3 separate regions of the Homo sapiens genome follow, and regions 2 and 3 are each linked to region 1. The links are contacts of gene promoters, found by promoter capture Hi-C in human tissues and cell types (Jung and others, 2019). All regions are on one chromosome and are shown on one strand. The core of a region is centred on a gene start or on the middle of the fragment in contact, and the rest is flanking DNA. Distances in the headings are between cores, read along the strand shown. Region 1 holds the start of IL1RAPL1 (interleukin 1 receptor accessory protein like 1). Region 2 overlaps IL1RAPL1 (interleukin 1 receptor accessory protein like 1). Region 3 overlaps IL1RAPL1 (interleukin 1 receptor accessory protein like 1).

Evidence for each region. Contacts are between HindIII fragments. The study calls those that stand out against the background at their distance.
Region 2: a fragment that was not itself captured here is called in contact with the fragment with the promoter of IL1RAPL1 in region 1 in 1 of the 25 tissues and cell types used here (hippocampus).
Region 3: a contact is called between a fragment that was not itself captured here and the fragment with the promoter of IL1RAPL1 in region 1, in 1 of the 25 tissues and cell types used here (hippocampus).

The regions. Positions count from the first base shown.
Region 1 is chrX:28,585,958-28,590,199 of GRCh38, forward strand. IL1RAPL1 (interleukin 1 receptor accessory protein like 1) reads left to right here and starts at 1,489. Exons shown (of 11, transcript NM_014271.4): 1 at 1,489-2,090. The HindIII fragment of the contact is 4,831 bases long and covers 1-4,242 here.
Region 2 is chrX:29,041,759-29,046,378 of GRCh38, forward strand. All of the region lies in intron 2 of IL1RAPL1 (interleukin 1 receptor accessory protein like 1), which reads left to right. Among named protein-coding and RNA genes, the nearest start is that of IL1RAPL1, 460 kb to the left of the region's middle. The HindIII fragment of the contact is 6,360 bases long and covers 1-4,604 here.
Region 3 is chrX:29,094,340-29,098,668 of GRCh38, forward strand. The region is part of intron 2 of IL1RAPL1 (interleukin 1 receptor accessory protein like 1); the gene reads left to right. Among named protein-coding and RNA genes, the nearest start is that of MIR4666B, 480 kb to the right of the region's middle. The HindIII fragment of the contact is 3,318 bases long and covers 1-3,179 here.

The DNA.
Region 1 (4,242 bases), core at 239-2,738:
CTAGAAAAGCGGCTCGCTGCCTTTTAATCATCCAGCCTACTCAGCTGCCGGAAACTGACACTGTTGCTGCAGTGTAAACATTAACATTTTTTAAGGGTCTTGCTACTCCAAATGTGGTCCACAGCCCAGCAACATTATTATGGGCCACGGGCGAGCTTATTAGAAACGCAGGGTCTCAGGCCTCACTCCAGATGTACCGAATCCGAATCTGCATTTTAACAAGACACCCAGGTGACGGTGTGTACATCAAAGTTTGAGAATCACGGAATCACATGTGAGTGTTATACTATCCCAATGTAAATGGTCAAGGACCTTAAATTGAGCAAATAACCTAATGTATTTACCCGTACCTACTTTGACCCTCTTTCTTCATCACAAATTCATCTCAGAAACCAGCAGCGAACTCTTTTGCAGGGAACTCAATTACGCGGTGGATGGGAGGAGGATCCTCTTCAATACCCTCCCCTCCGCTCCTCCTCCCACTCCCCACCCCCACCCCGCACTCCCAGAGAGCCTTCCACAGGCACCCTTCTCCCAAGCCCCACTCACTTAGGGAAGATTTTGCTCCTCCCCCAAACTGAAAGCGCGGCTGTGAGGAGGGTTACTGCTTGAAGGACTCACAGTTTGCATATCAATACAGACAGAGGCACTTTTGCAAAACTGCCCTTTAGAAACAATTATCATCTTAGCACCTGAGGTTTGTTTGGAGCAGCCCCCGCACCCCTTCTCTCTTGTAATCCATCTTAAAGTGATACGGAGAATGGGGGCGTTGGGGAGACAGTGATGGGGGTGGGAGGGTCGCGCGCAATAATAAATCTGCTTCAAAGAGAAGAGATGAAAAGGAGGTTATCAAGAGTGTGTCGGCTTAGGCATCACTCTCTGTATCTTTCTGCTTCCTAGAGAAATGGAACCATAATTCTAAGGTGGCTAAGGCAAGACTGTATAAGCATCCAAATTTGCCAGTCTGCTTTTGCCTGGAAGAACAGATTTCCGTTATTTGAAGCCTCCCAGGGTCCTTTCCAAAAGATTCCCAGGCTACCTTCCTTCCACTTCGGTCTTCTGAGAACTCAAACTCGCAAAGCGGTGGCTGTCTGTGGATTGGCTAGTACTAAAATATCCATTGGGTGGCAGTAATACTATCCTCTTTATGACTTGCAGCAAACCAGAGAATGCATTCAATCAAATGAACCGATCTTGTAGAAACACTGGAATCATTTATGCGTTGCAGTTTCTCTTTCTTGTTTTCGCTCCTTCTTCCCTGGGATATTTTGAGTGGATTGTGGCTATTAATCAAGATCTCGTGCTATTCGTGTTTTGCTTGTGGTTTTCGCTCAGGATTAGCATCATTCAAGGCAAACGCAAAGCTGCTTTTCCCACCCCCCCCCCCGACTCTTTTTTGAAAAATCATTTTTGGGGGCTGCTGAGGAGAGCTAGGACCCAGGAGACACCTTCCCAAACAGCAGGGGTTGTGTGCTTTCACATAGCAGTACTGTACAAGGAAAACCCCGTCGGATCTGTTATTGCGGGATACTTGTGAAATATACATAGGATTCTTTCTTATGGCTGCATCCCGGATCTGGAAATTTTACTTGGGGACCAGGAGGATTTGAAAGGCTGCATGTACTCAGAAGATTTGCAAGCAACACTCCAATTCTTGTCATAGAGCTCGCAGACTTCTCACTTATCGGCTTTTTTCCTTCCTTATTTTTTAAGAATTATTCTTATTTTCCCCTCTCTTTTTCTGCTCTCTCCTCTCTCAGTCTCTCCTTTTCTATCTGCCTCTTCATTTTTCTCCTAGTCTGTTTTTTTTTTTCCTGCTCTGCACCTGGATTGTATCTTCAGCAAACAATCGGGCACTTTGAGAACTAACTGGAGACAGTCTTGTAGGGAAGATCTGTATGGAATTATCTGCTTTTATGGTGAACTTGGCATTTGTGAATGGGAATCTTGTTCACAATATTAATTGCTAGCAAAAACAAGAAAAAGAACACAGGAGTAAAACGTGGATTTTTCTGAATACGCATTGTGATGACCAGCAATTACCTTACCGACTAATATCCAGAGGAGAATAATTTGGAAGACTGTTGTGGGTAAGGTCATTTTATATATGCAAACCCATCAGTGGCATGAGCAAACTTGGGCATTTGTAATGGGAATGGGTGACTTGAATGATTGCTGCATCGCATTGATGGCTGTGATGTGGCCGTTATTGGCACTGAATGGAATAACTGCAGTTGGGTGTGTTGATATGTGTGTGTGTGTGTGTGTGTGTGTGTGTGTGTGTGTGTGTATGTGTGTGTGCGTGTGTGTGTATATGTATGTGTGCCCGTATTCTGAGTGCAATTGAAAATCAAAGTATCACTCTCTCCCCCAATTATTTTGATATGGAAGAGTGTCTTGAATTAATTCTGGGTAGACACTCTTTGTTTGAATGTAATATTTGTGGCCCCTGCGTTCTGGAAGGGGTAGCAGCAGTAAAAGAAACACTTAGTGAAGAGCCCCATTTAAAATGAAACGAGCTACTCTCTATGCATTAAAAGAAATATGTTTTCAACTCAGTGCAGCATTCTGCTGCATTTCACAGCCGCAATGGGACCAGGGACATCCCACTTGTCAAGTTCTTAAACTTTAAGGTGATAATCATCGTTAATTGTTCTCTAGGTTGTGGTTACTGGAGATTATTAAGCGCCCTGGGCTACTTTTTTATCTACTGGATTATCACTCAGAGTGAAAAAAGGAAAAGAAAAGAAAAAGCTAAAAATGATGGCTAACATAGAGAAGAATAAGGCAACATTATCTTAAATATCACCACAGTGCTTTCTTTCTCAAGTTCAATTGCCCAATAATATAATTATTTACCCAATATCCTAAATAGCTGAAGCTGAGACCCACGTGCAGGGGAGTCGAAGGTCTGAAAGCAGAGACCGTCCTTTTATTGCAATGCAGCCAGCTTGGGAAATGCAGGCAATTAATTACATACTTCCCCTAACCTTAAGTTGAAGATGTGTCCTGTCTGCTACATCTATTTTACCCTTTCGGTAAAAAGTTAGAGACTAGAACACTAAGGATGTTTAAGCATATTCTGCCTGGGAAATGGGATAAAGAAATCAATATTGATGACGTGGTTCAGTGCACTGTACTGCAATGCTAAAGTTCCATATTCAGTGCCTGTGATGAGAGAGTGGAGCATTTACATATGTTATAAATCTCACCTGGTAGATTGATCCAAAGGGGAGGGGAGAAGATATGTGGATATGTAGGAAGATGGATGGAAGTCGTGCATAATCGGTGATTATGTAACTTCATTACATCAGCGAGTTTCAGTCAACGATAGTGAGATGAGATGATTGTATAGAGAGAGGCTCCATCACCCTGTTAACTTTTGAAGGCTTGTAACAGCTAACAGAGGAGGAGGGCAGAGAGAGATTAGCTCCAAGGGTCCTGTAAACCTTGATCTCTATGGCAAATTTTGCATGAGTTTTCTCATAGTGAGTTTCGGAGGGACATCAGATCATATAAGCTTTAGGGCTGGACAGGACCAATTTTAGCCACACCCGTGGAGAGTCAAAATGAGTCTGCGATGTTTCAGAAGTGCCCCATTGAGTAACTGGGACTGATGATTCCAGCCAAGGTCATAGTTCTTTACCCTAGGATTGAAATATATGACCCCAACTGAATGGAAAGTTAAATTCATTGAAATGATGACTGTGAACGGAATGAATATTTAGGGTCCTTTCTTGCATTTTTCCTGGTAGAGCTTGATGCAGATTTCAGCCTGGTGGTTCCCTCATAAAAATGATGATTGCTTCCACAGCGTGTCAGAAATGACTGTTTTGTCCCTTTATCTTAACCATGACAATCTCTTTCTGGGCCATTTTAACCTTCTGGGAAAAGAGAAGTAAAAGCATTCAAAGGTAACAGTACCCTGTTAAATTACAAATTAAATGGCACTGGATTCATTATTAACACAAATCCCAGAAAAAAAGAGCAATCCATGTTCAAGTTTCACTTATTGAATGGCTTAAAAGACAGGTTGCAGCTGCCAAAGACTTTTACCATCATATGAGATAAATGTACTGTGCTCACTGTGCAGAGAAGGGAATACTGCAGAATAAAATGTCATTTTCCCTCATGTTTTATCTGGAGTTGTGATTTTTTTTAAAGAAGATACACATCAGGTCCTTTTGGCCTTCTACTGTTTTAGGATCTGTTTTCTCCTCAATAGATCACATATTCACAAAA
Region 2 (4,620 bases), core at 175-2,674, 460 kb after region 1:
TGACAGTTTTATGATAACAGTATGTTTCCAGTACAGTATAATTGTTGTCACAATGAGCTGTTCACTAAAGCACGGACATTCTGTCATCTCATCTGTAAAAAGTAGATAATAATATCCTCCTTATCGAAAATCAATGAGCTGGAACAAGTGATTTCTAGTTTTCCTTCTATGCAGTAATAGCTAAGAGGGGGAGAAAGGAAATGAGAACAAATATGAGCCCGAGTTTACAATGTCTTCCTGGGACAGTATCAGAAATGAAACCTAATTTGTAGTGTCTCTGATAAAACATGAGCTTCATCTTCTCCTTCTTCCCCCAAAAGATATCAATTTTCATTTTACCAGTTTACCCCTACTAGCTGGAGCTCAGAACATAGGCCCACATGCCTATTTCTGCCATGAGCAGAACAACTATATTTAGATATTCCAGATTGTTCTTATTCCATAGAGGCCCAATGAATTTGGTAACTAAGACTGAATGGAACTTGGTATCTCATCAGTGCCTCTCAAAGATTTCCTTTCACTTGTTTCTTCAGGAAGACAACTACTAGTTGGACACATAAAAGTTTTAACTGTGGCTAGGCCCCACTCTTCTCTAGTTCCCATTGGAACTAGAAACTGTTGTAAGAATGACTCCAAGGAACATTAAAGACATTTTCAGATTGACTTTGAAGGCACATATAAGTGTGTTCAATGACTTTGTAATTTGGGGAAGACTCTTAAACTCCCTATTAGCAGATTATCATATATAACATATGAATAGACCTGTTTGAGGATGTAATGAGCTCATGCATATAAAATAACTAGTAAAGTGACCTGTACATTTTCAGCCCTCATTGTAAGCGTAATTATATTATATTATTCATCTTTTGTAGGAAAAGTTTTATTGAATTGGAGAACAACAGAAGACAAAAGCGTTCCTCCTTTCCCTTTCTAGATTTGTATATATTACAGAACACACATAAAAATGGACATTTCTCTGCAGATTATCTTACTGTTATGTATAAAAATAATAAATTGGCTCTCTGCCTATGGAGCAGACATTCTTTTGTTTCTTTACTTCTCTAATAAACTTGCTTTCACTTTACCATAGATAGCAATAGTAATAAGTCATGGAGAAAATTAATAACTACTTGGACTTTCTACGAAAATGTAGGGAAAGTGTATATAGATTTTTAATTGATGTTTTGATTCCAAACAAAAGAAAAAACTTCTTACAAATCATTTAATTTAAAGCTAAAAATTGCCTTAGATCACACATCTGTCCTGGTTGTACTAGGAAAATTGATATAAATATTCTCATGGCTGTCACACACCTGTTCTTCCTAAGGCAGTTCCATCTGAGGCATGATATTAAAAGGAATCAGAGGTGCTCACCAAGCAACATAACACCCTTGACTAAGACACCAACATTGTGATGATGTGTGAAATACTTACATTTCTCTATGGCTGCCATAGTACCTTATATTGGCTTCAGATCTTTTTATGTTTGTGATCTCTTTATCCATGAAATCTAGTTTATTTGCCCCCTTTTGAAAATCCATCCCCTATCCTCATTTTTAATTCATCCATTCTTCTTCCTATTCAGAGTAACCTACCTCTCTTACCAAGGGTGTGGCCAGATGTGATCTTTTTTTTTCAGGGCCTTAAATCCAGCAAATTATGTCTTGAAATAATGACACGTCATAAAGTCACTTAACTTTTTTTCCGAGTCCACCAGTTCTTTTTAACGTTTTTCACTGTCTAATAAAGGGTCTAAAGCCCTGACTGGAATCCATGCATGGAGGTGTCAAAGCTTACCACTGTTATAAAAATATTTCCCCCTACATGGCATGTCTTCATTTGGGCATGAATCATGAATTCATCCCATGCGTTCTCCTTTATTTCATGAACACCCAACTGTGTCAGAATGCCAATGACCTTCATTGGCTTGGCTAATCTATGGATCTGAACCCTCCTGTAATCCATTAAAAGAATAATAGCAAATTGAAAGTGAATGTAAAGATACCCAATGGGACCATAAAACTAACTATTCAATGTGACGTGCTTTGGCTTAATAGGGCTTTTATTTATTTAATTTCGAGCTCCCCTTGGTTTCTGACAGGGTTAGTGGAGGAAACAAACCCAGACATCTTGTAAGCTGTCAAGCTGATACTCATCTCAGGGGAGCTTAGAGGGTATCATGTTTTAAGTTTTATTTTTCTGGAGCTTGGAATATGTCTGCTGACAGACGGCTCCCCTGGGTTATAGCAATGCAAGGCTGTTGAGACAATTGAATAAGCTGAATTAGACAAAGGATTTTTATTACAATAACAACCAGATGGAACTTTGAAGGAAATTTTTTTTTAAGGTCTTAGAAGTTCTGTTACAGAAATCATTTAAAACATATTTATGGGCTGGGCGTGGTGGCTTATGCCTGTAATCCTAGCACTTTGGGAGGCCAAGGCAGGTGGATCACTTGAGGTCAGGAGTTCAAAACCAGCCTGGCCAACACGGTGAAACCCACCTCTACTAAAAATACAAAATTAGCCGAGTATGGTTGCAGGTGCCTATAATTCCAGATACTCAGGAGGCTCAGGCAGGAGAATCACTTGAACCTGGGAGGTGGTGGTTACAGTGAGCCAAGATCGCGCCACTACACTCCAGCCTAGGCAACAGAGTGAGACTCCGTCTCTAAACAAATAAATAAATAAATAAATAAAAAGATATTTATGATGATTTTTCCTATTATAAGGTTAAAAAAAACAACATAAAGATCTCATTGCTCTGTTTTTTTTAATCCCTAATGATTAATATGTGGCCAGTTACAGAGACTCTTCCAGCCAACCCGTGACATATACACATTAATAATGTTCTTTTGTATTTGCAGATCTTATTTCTTCAGAGTAATGGAAAATCCTGCCCAGTACTGTTCTATTAATCTTCATAACGAATGCTAGGGGGCTAGGTGGGCGGCATTTGGTGTTATCCACATGTAATAGATTTTTTAAAAATGGGGCAATGAAAACAAAATAAGTCTTGAAACTTGTTAACACCCACAGTGGAAGTTTAGCAGTGGAAATGAACTAATATTACCAGAAGACCTCTTATTCTCTATTGCTTTTCATGATTAGCTAGTACATTTATTATTTTTCTCATGAATGACAAGATTGCCTGTAATGTATTTGACATGTGGTAGTTTTCCAATCTCCGGCAGGCTGTGTGCATGGGTGTGTGTGTATGTGATTAATAAATACTTAAATATTTTTTATATAGGGATTGTTTTGCCCTCTAGAGGCAGCTCAATAGAAGGAGCATTCAATGTTAGTGATTGAAAAATGGTAGATGAAACTTGGACAGGAAAACTCGAGAGGTCCAAGGTACCTTATTTAGCTACTGCTGTCACGGTGGATCATAATGCAGTGGGACAGTCAGGACTCAAAGCCTTTCCTATAACCACATACGATGGATATTGAGCACAATACAGAAGCAAAAGATTTGTTTTAACTTGGATACTTCAACTGCAAGCGTCTCTGGGCCTGATATCCAGTTCAGAATTCACTGTACTTTTTATTTCACTATCGGCTTTCCAAAATATGGTAACTAAATGAGTAAATGAAAACATGGCAATACAAACCAACACAAGTTCTTTTGCTGACAGAGCATGCAATTGCCAAGTAAAAATATTGTTCTTTATTAGGTTTCTTTTCATCGTACATGTACATATTCATTTGGAAACACATTTTTTTGAGACATAATCTTGCTCTGTCACCCAGGCTGGAGTGCAGTGGTACAATCATAGCTCACTGTAGCCTCAATTTCCTAGGCTCGAGGGATCCTCCTGCCTCAGCCTTTCAAGTAACTAGAACTACAGGCATGGGCACTTGCCGGGCTAATTTTTTAAAATTATTTTTTGTAAAGACTGGGTCACCTCAGCCTTCCAAAGAGCTGGGAAGAGCTGGGCATATAGGCAGGCATGAGCCACCATGCCCAGTCTACAAACACATTTTAAAACCATAGGCCTTCTAGTTTTTTGTTGTTGTTGTTTAGGTTGGCTTTTGACATGCTACTTATTGCATACTAGTCTGTCATGTTCCTAAATTCCAGTTACTCCTGTAGCCATTTTTAAAGATTATTTTTTAAATTTTTCTTCCTCCTCCTCCACCTCCTCCTCCTCCTCCTTCTTCCTCCTCCTCCTCCTCCTTCTTCCTCCTCCTCCTCCTCCTCCTCCTTCTTCTCCTCCTTCTTCCTCCTCCTCCTCCTTCTTCTTCTTGCTTCTTTTTCTTCTTCCTCTTCTTCTCCTCCTCCTCCTCCTCCTCCTTCTTTTTCTTCAGGCATGGCCTTGCTCTGCCACTCAGGCTGGAGAGCAGGGGTGCAATTATGGTTCACTGCAGCCTCAACCTCCATAGCTCAATCAATCCTCTTGTCTCAGCTTCCTGAGTTGCTGGGACTATAGGCATGTGTCACCACAACTAGCTAATTAAAAAAAAAAAAATTCTTTTTAGAGACGATGGGGCCTTACTATGTTACCCAGACTGGTGTTGAACTCCTAGCCTCAAGCGATCTTCCTGCATTGGCCTCCCAAAGCCCTGGGATTGCAGGGTTCCCAAGTGGCCATATCATTGGATTTGTCTTCAGAGTGAT
Region 3 (4,329 bases), core at 271-2,770, 510 kb after region 1:
TGAAATTTACAATGAGTGCCTTTCAATTCACTATGGCATTGTTATAAGGCGGATTTTTAGTTGTATCGTAGTTGATAACATATTGGTTTTCTTTTAAATTTCTAGATTTTTTGTTTTACTTAAAGAAACATCTATTGGCTGGGCATGGTGGCTCACGCCTGTAATCCCTGCACTTTGGGAGGCTGAGGTGGGTGGATCAACTGAGGTCAGGAGTTTGAGACCAGCCTGGCCAACATGATGAAACTCTATCTCTACTTAAAAAAAAAAAAAAAAAAAATCAGCCGGGCAGGGCATGGTGGCAGGTACCTGTAATCATAGCTACTCGGGAGGCTGAGGCAGGGGAATGGCTTGAACCCAGGAGGCGGAGGTTGCAGTGAGCTGAGATTGCACCACTGCACTCCAGCCTTGGTGACAAGAGTGAAACTCCATCTCAAAAAAAAAAAAAAAAAAAAAAAAAAAAAAGAAACATCTATTTAATAGAAAACACACCTAAAAACTAAAAAAAAAAAAAAAAAGAAAACAACTACTGATCTCACTGCCTGGTATTAACTACTTTTAAGATTTTTGTGTATATCTTTCTCCATTTACATTGATTTTTAATTTCAGTTAAGTGAGAATTCCATCTCTTTTTTATAGCTTTCACTTTAGGAGTAATTTACTTTAGTTGAGAATTTCACATTCATGTATCTTAAAGTCCTTTCTCTTTTTGGATTATATTATTATTTTATTTTTAGTATAGACAAAGTATTCTTGCTTCCCCAACAAGATATGGAAATTCATATATTTTGACAAAATATGATGCTATTTTCCATGTAAAGGACAGATATGTTTTCTTTGATTTCTTTTTCTCATAGACTTGTTTATCATTTCTCTTGCTCTAAATTTTAGAAAGGTGTTGTTTTTGCCTTCCTGTTAGGCTTCACCTGAACAGTTATAGTGATGGTGTGGAAGGCAATTCTTACTATATTAGTCATTTGATGGTAGTCTGCAACTTCAGGGGCTCTGTCTTAATAGTTTTACATTGCTATAATTCAGTGGCTTTGAGGTCTAGCTTAATACCCAAATTACTAATATATTTAGGATTGTTGAAACTGCAAATGTTCAAGCTTTACCTCAAACAGTCCACAAGATATTCCCTAGGCTTCAGGGTTTGAGAATCCTCTAAATGAACAAAGCCCATTAATCCATGCTGTATCATAGTGACTGACACATGGTAAACTCAATAAATTTATCTATTTTAAGTTAATAGAATTCTGGCAAGATTATCTGTTCATTGCATGTATAACATGGTGACCTTAATCTTTTGGGTAGAAATAAATCAGCTATCACTTATGATTTTCTCAAGGAATAATGGTACCTTTTCAAAAGGATAGGTTTTATATACTATGAGATGTCCTGATATAATTTGAATTCATGGCAATACTGCATTTGCCTTTTTTTTTTTTTTTACCATCTTTCAAGAGGGCTGCCTAGAGATAAGAATTTAAGGGCCATGTGTTGTATTTTTGCTAGTACCTTGAAAGAAGTTTTTGCTTTGTTTTTAATGGCAATACAAATAAAATCCAAAAATCCTGGACACATATGATAAGTTCAGTTGTTTATTTGAAAAGTAAATGCCTCACATGCCTTGCTCATACCACTTTAAAATGGGATTGATTGATAAACACAAACTCTAACTCTCTTACATTAAAGAGTATCAACACTCTGAATTTTTAATTATCTTTGATAATCCCCATGAACATTTTTAGGACTCACACGTAAAATAGTCAAGTCTATTTCAAGTTATGTCAGACAATGCTTTTTAATATACTGTTCAGTGCAGCACCCTACCAAAAACTAGTCCTGTGGTTGCTTTATCTAATTGTGCCTTGGTAAGGGATTTGTTAAGAGTGGGGAAAAAATACCCCCAGAAATGCTTTAATTAAACAGCTTCAAATACAGCCATTGTTCTTACAACAGAATTGTGTAAGTCTTCTCCCTGAAGAGAAATATTGCTGTAGCCAATATAGCTATACAATTAGTCTATGTATATTAATGTAAATATAATTTCATTATAAAAATGCTTACTCGTACAGAATCTAATTTTTATCTGATTATTTTTTCAAACACTGGCCAGTCCCATGAGTGAAAATACCTATAATGTAAGGTCAGTTGCCAATTATAAAAAACATTGTTTAGATGGAAACCCAGGGTATTCACCCAATGTGGTTATTACTTGTGCTTACATAATGAAATTTGATCAGCTTGTTTTAAAATAATCTATTTAGGTCCTAGTATTCACAATATCTCTTCCCAGAAATAAAGACTTCCTTGAAGAAAGTAAATGATTTGAACTGGAAAAACATGTAAGAAATTTAAAAAAATTAAATATATATTTATTTTAATATATGTATGAAGAAAGTTTTTCAAGATGTTATGATGAAATTGATTTTCTTTGAGGTCCAAAATGGCCTTTACATGAGGTATAGGACTAAGATTTTAGTAAAAAGCACGTACCTTGGTCATCACAGAATTGTTGGGAATCATTCAGAGACCATGTAGAAATGTTTCCCAGGGTGAGAAAGACTGAACCCTAGACTAATATTGGCTCTGCCAAAAATAAAATAAAATAATTTTTTAAAAATTAAAGAACTTATGGAGGGCACACCCTTTCATTCTGTGATTTCCACGTCAAGAGGTCTCAGTGGAGCATACATCTGAAACAAATCATTTAAGCTATAAATTTAGTCACTAAGATCATCTTTAGATCCAACATTGATATGTTAATTTATGAAATCAAAAAGTAATATACTTTATAGCTTCCTCCTAAATCTTAGAAGGTACTGGAACACCCATACTTTGACCATTCTTTTACGTTCACTAAATTTCCTAAGAGTGTCATGGAAACAGAAGAGGAATAGAAAATCTATCAGGTAACCCTGCCCTACCTGGCAAATTTTTGTGTTGTAGTTGCTTTTGTTTAACATTTCTTTTATCAGTTAATTATACGCTGATAGAGATTTTAGATGGACTCTTGGAACTCCAAGAAAAAAGAGGTTCTGATTCAGATGCTCTTGGAAATATAGACACATTTGAGTGTCTTAAAAGCATACACGAGACAAGGTCTATTTTCCAAAGGTGCAGAGCAAGTACTGAAGCTTCTCCACTTGAAAACAACAGTATAAAAACTACCATTAAGGCCATTTGTTCATTTGCCCAAAGTATCCAAGGAGTTGTTTAAGCTTTCAGCCCCTTATGCATTTCCATCAAATATGAATATGTGTTGCTCCTTCTAGTAGTTAAGACCAGTGACACCCATTTCTTCCTTGATGGTCTATATTTTATTGGGTATTTAATTACAGAGCAATCAACTACACTGAAAAAAAAATAACTTGATTCAGTTAAGTTCTTACCCCACAATGCTCACAGGCTTTACTGATTATACACCACCTCTTATGTGCAATTGTCTTTGGACTAATCAGATGTGATGGGCTTAATGTTGTTTTTAAACCCTAACAAATCTGGTCATAGGCAAAGCAAACCTGCTAAAGATGAAGGGACTAGATTTAAATGACCTTGCTGACTTCCAGACCCTTCTTTTGATCGTGGGCAGAATGGATATGCTCTTGTTGTGGAATATAACTATGTATGGATTTATAAAAGTTTGTCAAATGAAAGTTGAAAGTTCTATATTCACTTTACCCAATTTACTAGAAAGGGAACCAATTTTCTCGTTAATTACAGGCTGTTAGAAAGGCGTAATGAAATTTCACAACTGTCCAACTGGTGCTTGATGAGAAGATTACTATCTATGGATGAGGGTTATGTCTACAGTTCTTTAATCTTTCCTTTCTTTCTTTTTTTCCTCTATAGTGTCTCCTCTGTTTCTCCCAAACATCTGCTCTATTCCTTTTGATGTCCTGTTAGTCATCCCCATTCCATGCCACTACCACTGCTCTCCTTTTACACTTCCTTTCTTCTGTCTTGTGTCTTCTACTTACTCATTGCATCCCCTGAATTGTTGTTGTTGTTGTTATTGCTGTAGTTTAAACACATATTGACCTCCATGGTTACCCTGTTCACCTTTTGTGTCAATTCATCATTTTACAATTATTATAATGTATCATTTTATTTATTTGGAAATAATATTTATTTGGAAAAATGTATTTATTTGGAAATAAATGTTTCATTTCCAAGTTTCATATTAGAGCTTGGATACTCAACTTGTGGTCCTTGGACCAGCAGCTGCAACATCACCTAGGGACTTGTTAGAAATGCAAAACCTCAGCCTCTACCCTAGGCCTTGAGTCAGAATCTGAAATTCAAAAAGTTACTGAGGTCACTGGTGTG